Regions from separate parts of the Homo sapiens genome. Here region 2 is linked to region 1. Evidence: promoter capture Hi-C in human tissues and cell types (Jung and others, 2019). All regions are on one chromosome and are shown on one strand. Each heading gives the region's core, a stretch centred on a gene start or on the middle of the fragment in contact. The rest is flanking DNA. Distances are from core to core; before and after follow the strand shown. Region 1 holds the start of CLTB (clathrin light chain B). Region 2 overlaps FAF2 (Fas associated factor family member 2).

Evidence for each region. Contacts are between HindIII fragments. The study calls those that stand out against the background at their distance.
Region 2: a fragment that was not itself captured here is called in contact with the fragment with the promoter of CLTB in region 1 in 2 of the 25 tissues and cell types used here (liver and spleen).

Annotation. Positions count from the first base shown.
Region 1 is chr5:176,415,093-176,417,792 of GRCh38, reverse strand. It overlaps CLTB (clathrin light chain B), which reads left to right and starts at 1,254. Exons shown (of 6, transcript NM_007097.5): 1 at 1,254-1,616. The coding sequence starts at 1,430. RefSeq lists silencers at 962-1,421, 1,462-1,561, 1,672-1,751. The HindIII fragment of the contact is 14,544 bases long and covers 1-2,700 here.
Region 2 is chr5:176,477,018-176,479,717 of GRCh38, reverse strand. FAF2 (Fas associated factor family member 2) reads right to left here. Exons shown (of 11, transcript NM_014613.3): 2 at 462-530. Among named protein-coding and RNA genes, the nearest start is that of FAF2, 30 kb to the right of the region's middle. The HindIII fragment of the contact is 5,477 bases long and covers 1-2,700 here.

The sequences.
Region 1 (2,700 bases), core at 5-2,504:
ACCATGCAAATGGACAGCAATAAATAAATACATTAATTTAATTAAATAAAACAATAAAAACCCCCCCAAAAACAGTAACATCAAAAGGTGCTCAAGTTGTTACCAATTAAACTGAAAGTTCCAGCTGGGCTTGGTAGCTCACACATGTAATCCCAGTGTTTTGGGAGACCAAGGCAGGAGGATCCCCTGAGGCCAGCAGTTCAAGACCAGCCCAGTTAATATAGCGAGGCCCTGTCTCTAAATAAAAAAATTAAAAAGAAAAAAAAAAAAACACCTGGAAGGTCCCTTCACCCCAACTCCACTTCCACCCCCAACTTGGCGGCACATCTTTCCTTTCGCTCTTCCAGTCCATATTTCATAGTTGCCTTTCAAGTCCCACATTAGAAATAGCAGACAGCCCAAATCCCATGGTGTTTCTTTGCATCGTCTCCCTATACCCCGTGTTTAAATGTCACAGCGCCTCACACACAGTGCTTTGACAGGCCATTTGCCATCTGTTGGTCTCACCGGATTGTAATCTCCGCATGGCCATGGCTGGATTTTATAAAACGTTGCTGTCCTGGTGCTTGGCAAAGCGCAGGCAGGGAGGAGGCATTCAGAGCCTGTTCACAGAGGGCAGCGGGCAGCGTGGAGAGTGGTAGGCTGCCTGGGTAAACCAGGTCTGCCTTTCTCAGGCTGGTTCATACCTAAAGGACATTTAAGGGGCCTAGCTGGCCATCCAAACTCTGGTCGTATGAACTGAAGCCTCCTCAAGGGAGATACACAAAAAAATACACAAAACAACACGGCCTAGTGGGAAAGGACCTGGACTTGCATGAAAAGGTGCGGGGCAGCCTTTCCCAGCCTCAATTTTCCTCTTCTTACAGAGGCGGAGGCTCATAGAATGAGGTGCATGACATCCCAACCTAGGAGAAGAAACTTCTGCAGAATGAATCAGGAGCCAGGTCTGCGCTCCCGAGGCCAGAGGTGGCCTCCTGTCGCAGCTCTGTGCACGGTACGGCCACTCTGTGCCCTGCGTTTCGCCTCCAGGCCGGGCGGGAGCAGTGCCTAGCCCAGGTGTCCTCGACGCGAGCAGCTGGGCGCCGCTGCGGAGGGAGGGAAGCGCCGCGCCGGTCCCGGGCCCAGCGCTGCGCCCAGTCCTGAGGCGCCCTCCTGCGGCCGCTGCTCGGCGACCTCCCGGCCCTGCGGCCCCGCCCCCGCGGTGACGTCACCGCATTCCGGCTCCGCTCCTCCCGCCGCGGCGCCCGCACCGCAGTGACAGCCAGCCGGGCCCGGTGGCGGAGAGGAAGTGCGGTCCGCGCCAAGCCCGTCCCCGCCGACGCCGGCTCCCCCGCGGCTCGGGTGACAGCGTCGCGGCCGCCGGACGCAGCGCGGGGCAGGCGCGGGCAGAGCCGAGCGCAGCGGAGGCTCCGGCGGAGGCGCGGGGAAAATGGCTGATGACTTTGGCTTCTTCTCGTCGTCGGAGAGCGGTGCCCCGGAGGCGGCGGAGGAGGACCCGGCGGCCGCCTTCCTGGCCCAGCAGGAGAGCGAGATTGCAGGCATAGAGAACGACGAGGGCTTCGGGGCACCTGCCGGCAGCCATGCGGCCCCCGCGCAGCCGGGCCCCACGAGTGGGGGTGAGTCAGCGCGGGGCCTGGAGAGGGGCTCAGGGCGCGCACCCGGGGGACCCCGGCCGGGGCCCAGGGGCACAGGGAAGAGAGCCTGCTCTAGGCCACCCGGGGCAGGAGCTGGGAGACGTGGGGAAGAATCTTCTTGGAGATCTCCATGTAGGACTTCCGAGCTGGGGATGAGGCCTCGCCTGGGGCTGTGGATCTGGTGACTCCCGGGACAGGAATTCGGTCATGACATTTCATCCCCAGGCCAGCTTCCCCACTGCCCGGCTCTGGAATCCAACCCCACCTCAGTTTTGAGAGTCCCTCCTGAGCCTCCTAATAGCCTGGGTGTCCCAGGCTCCCAGCTAAGTGTGCAGGTGTGGGCAGAACACAGCCCTCCTGGCCCCTCAGGCTTAGCTCTCTCCTGCAGCTGGGAAAAAAGAGGATCCTGGGTGCTCCAGGAACTCACTAACCTTCCCCGGTGACCGCCTGGCATTCGGCAGTCGCTGGGCTAAGCGCCTTGGTTACATTTAATCACTTCATACACGTGATTGAACCCATTTCAGAGATGGTAAAACTGAGGCTCAAGGGAGTATGCTATTGAAATAACTAGTAAGTGGCAGATCAAGAATTTAAACCTGTTTCTTTTTCTTTTACATATATATTTTTTCTTTTCCTTTTTTTGAGATGGGGTCTCGCTATGTTGCCCAGACTGGTCTTGAGCTCCTGGGCTCAAGCAATCCTCCCACCTCTGCCTCCTAAAGTGTTGGGATTACAGGTGTGAGTCACCACACCTGGCCGTGAATTTAAACCTGTTCCTGTCGGACTTGAAGCCCTCTCCACCTGACCACACTGCCTACCAAGTGTCTGGCTCTGAGTTAGACACCGGAGTGTGGGCCACAAAGAGGCATCAGTCAGATGCGGTAGGGCCCTTCAGGGTTTTGTAGTTGTCGACTTAATGGTTTTCCAAAGGTGGTCCGGGGCTATTATGATTTACTGTGATTGGCTTCAGACCTCAGTGTTCAGGGCCTAGTCCCTGTGAAATCATCTTTATCAATGATGTTTCTGCCCTGGTTCTGGCTAGCAAGAATGATTTTGTAAAATATTT
Region 2 (2,700 bases), core at 184-2,683, 62 kb before region 1:
CTCAAAAAAAAAAAATCAGAGGCATTATAGTGAGGACAAAATGCTATTACCATTATCAACTGACAGTGTTTTAAAGTTCTTGCTAATTCAATGGTCAAGGAGAAGAGTTGCAGAGAACATGACTACCTAGACAACCCCAAAGAATAAACTATAAAATATGTAAGAAGAAGGTTCACATCAAGACATCTGGTTAAAAACTAAATATACAAAAACCAATTGTTTTCCCAACAAGATACTAACAAACAGTAGGGGGTGGGGCACTATATTGAGGGATTTAGTCACAAATTTTTCTATGATTTTATAAACTTTCTCACATTCTTTACCTTCCTGCACTTTTATTTTTAGAGTCATAATTCTGAAAAAAATCTACTGAAAAGATTCCTGCTATGGAAAAACATACGGTTTTGACTCTTAATCAGACCAGAGAAAAAGAAATAAGCTCAGAACACATCCTATTATACCTCTATGTTCCAGTTATGCTGTTCCAAGGTATGGCGACACTGATCCATAGATTCGATGCCAGTGAGATCCTGAAAAGAAGGATGAAAACAAGTTACTTAGAGAAAAACCAACAGTATACGTGTGAGTATTTTTACGCCATATACTGCTAGGAAAATACACTAAAAAATGTTAAAAGTGAGTGTTAAAGTATGGTAAAACTTCACCGATTCAGAATTTATACAGTCAGCTGACTGTTCTAGATGCGTAAAGAACTAAAAAAATGATAATTCCTTTTAAAACTTCAAGGCTTTCAATTAAGAGGAGTACTGACTAAGATCAATATTCTCCTCTCAAATTCAAGTTTAAAAAATTAAAGATTTTTCAACCTGTGGGCTAAGCAAAATATTATTTAATGCTAAACAGCTATTCTGTTGATAGTACAGGTTGAGCATCCCAAATCTGAAACCTAAAATGCTCCAACATTTTTTGAAACATTTTGAGTGCTGACATGTCTCAAAGGAAATGCATAGTGGAACATTTCAGATTTGAGATGCTCATTCAGTAAAACGTAAATATTCCAAATTCTCAAAACAATCCAAATCTGAAACACTTGTGGTTCCAAGCATTTTAGATAAGGAATACTCAACCTCTACATAATGATGTAATGCACCTTTCCTGTAAAACGTCATGCCTTTCATTAACTTATTTCATTTTATATACTGGTATTAACCTAGTTTATAATATGAACTGTGTAAAACCTAACATACCGACCCCCCTACCCCCCGCCACTTTTTTTTCGAGACAGGGTCTTGCTCTGTCATCCAGTTTGGAGTGCAATAGCGCAATGACTGCTCACTGCAGTCTCAACTTCCCAGACTGAAGCGATCCTCCCGCCTCAGCCTCCTGAGTAGCTGGCACTGCAGGTGTGCACCACCACACCCAGCTAAATTTTGGATGTTTTTTGTAAAGACGGGATCTCTCTATATTCCCCAGGCTGGTCTCCAACTCCTGGGCTCAAGCAATCCTCTTGCCTTGGCCTCCCAAAGTGCTGGGATTATAGGTGTGAGCCACTGCAGTTACAGTATTTTCTCACTATTTCCGTTCAGATGTCCAATATTCAGCAAATCTAACAGTTCATGTATACATCTCATGCCCAGAATTTCCACAGAGCTAAACTCTAGCATTCCTTCAAAGTCTAATATAAAAGCCAAAACCATCCATCTAATCCATCCATCCTTTCATTTGACAAATGTGTGCTACATGCCTATTCTGTACAGCACTAACTTACTATGTTGGAGGGACAGAAAATGAATAAGATGTAGTCTCTATCCTCAAGAAACTCCTCTAAACAACCAGTAAGCTTCAGGGCAAAGAGACTGATCTCAACCTGACAAGAATGTAGTAGTATGGACTGATGAGTCTGAAAACTGAAGTTCTTGCCTAATTCTGCACCCCATGGCCACGGACAGGCACATTTTAACTCTGAATTTAGTTTCCTTTATGTGCAATGTGAAGGGTTTAATGTGGAATGCATTTCTTTTCCAGAGCTTAAAAAAATGAAACAAAATTCAAAAACTGAAATTCGGATTTTTAGGTATACAAGTTTTCATTTTTTATAATTACACATGTAGTACAAAAACTTGCAATAAAAAATGTTAATGTTTAAAATGCTGAAATAGAAAAGTTCCTTTAAGAACCACTGGCTTTGACAGTTCTGAGTCTGGATTTTAGGTCCTGACCATTACAGGACTCTTCACATTTGCCTATTCCCTTCTGGCTTCTAATAGGACCCCCTTAACTTTCAGTGTCCTACATTACAACCCACTAAAGGACTGGGATGTCCAGGGTTCCTCCTTCTCGCTGTGGATTCTCTTTAAGAATTGGACTCTAGGCCAGGCATGGTGGCTCACGCCTGTAATCCCAGCACTTTGGGAGGCTGAGGTGGGCGGATCACATGAGGTCAGGAGTTAGAGACCAGCCTGGCCAACATGGTTAAAACCCCACCTCTACTTAAAAAAAAAAAAAAAAAAAAGGCCGGGCACGGTGGCTCATGCCTGTAATCTCAGCACTTTGGGAGGCCGAGGCGGTCAGATCATGAGGTCAGGAGATCCAGACCATCCTGGCTAACACAGTGAAACCCCGCCTCAACTTAAAAAAAAAAAAAAAAAAGGCCGGGCACGGTGGCTCACGCCTGTAATCTCAGCACTTTGGGAGGCCGAGGCGGGCGGATCACGAAGTCAGGAGATCGAGACCATCCTG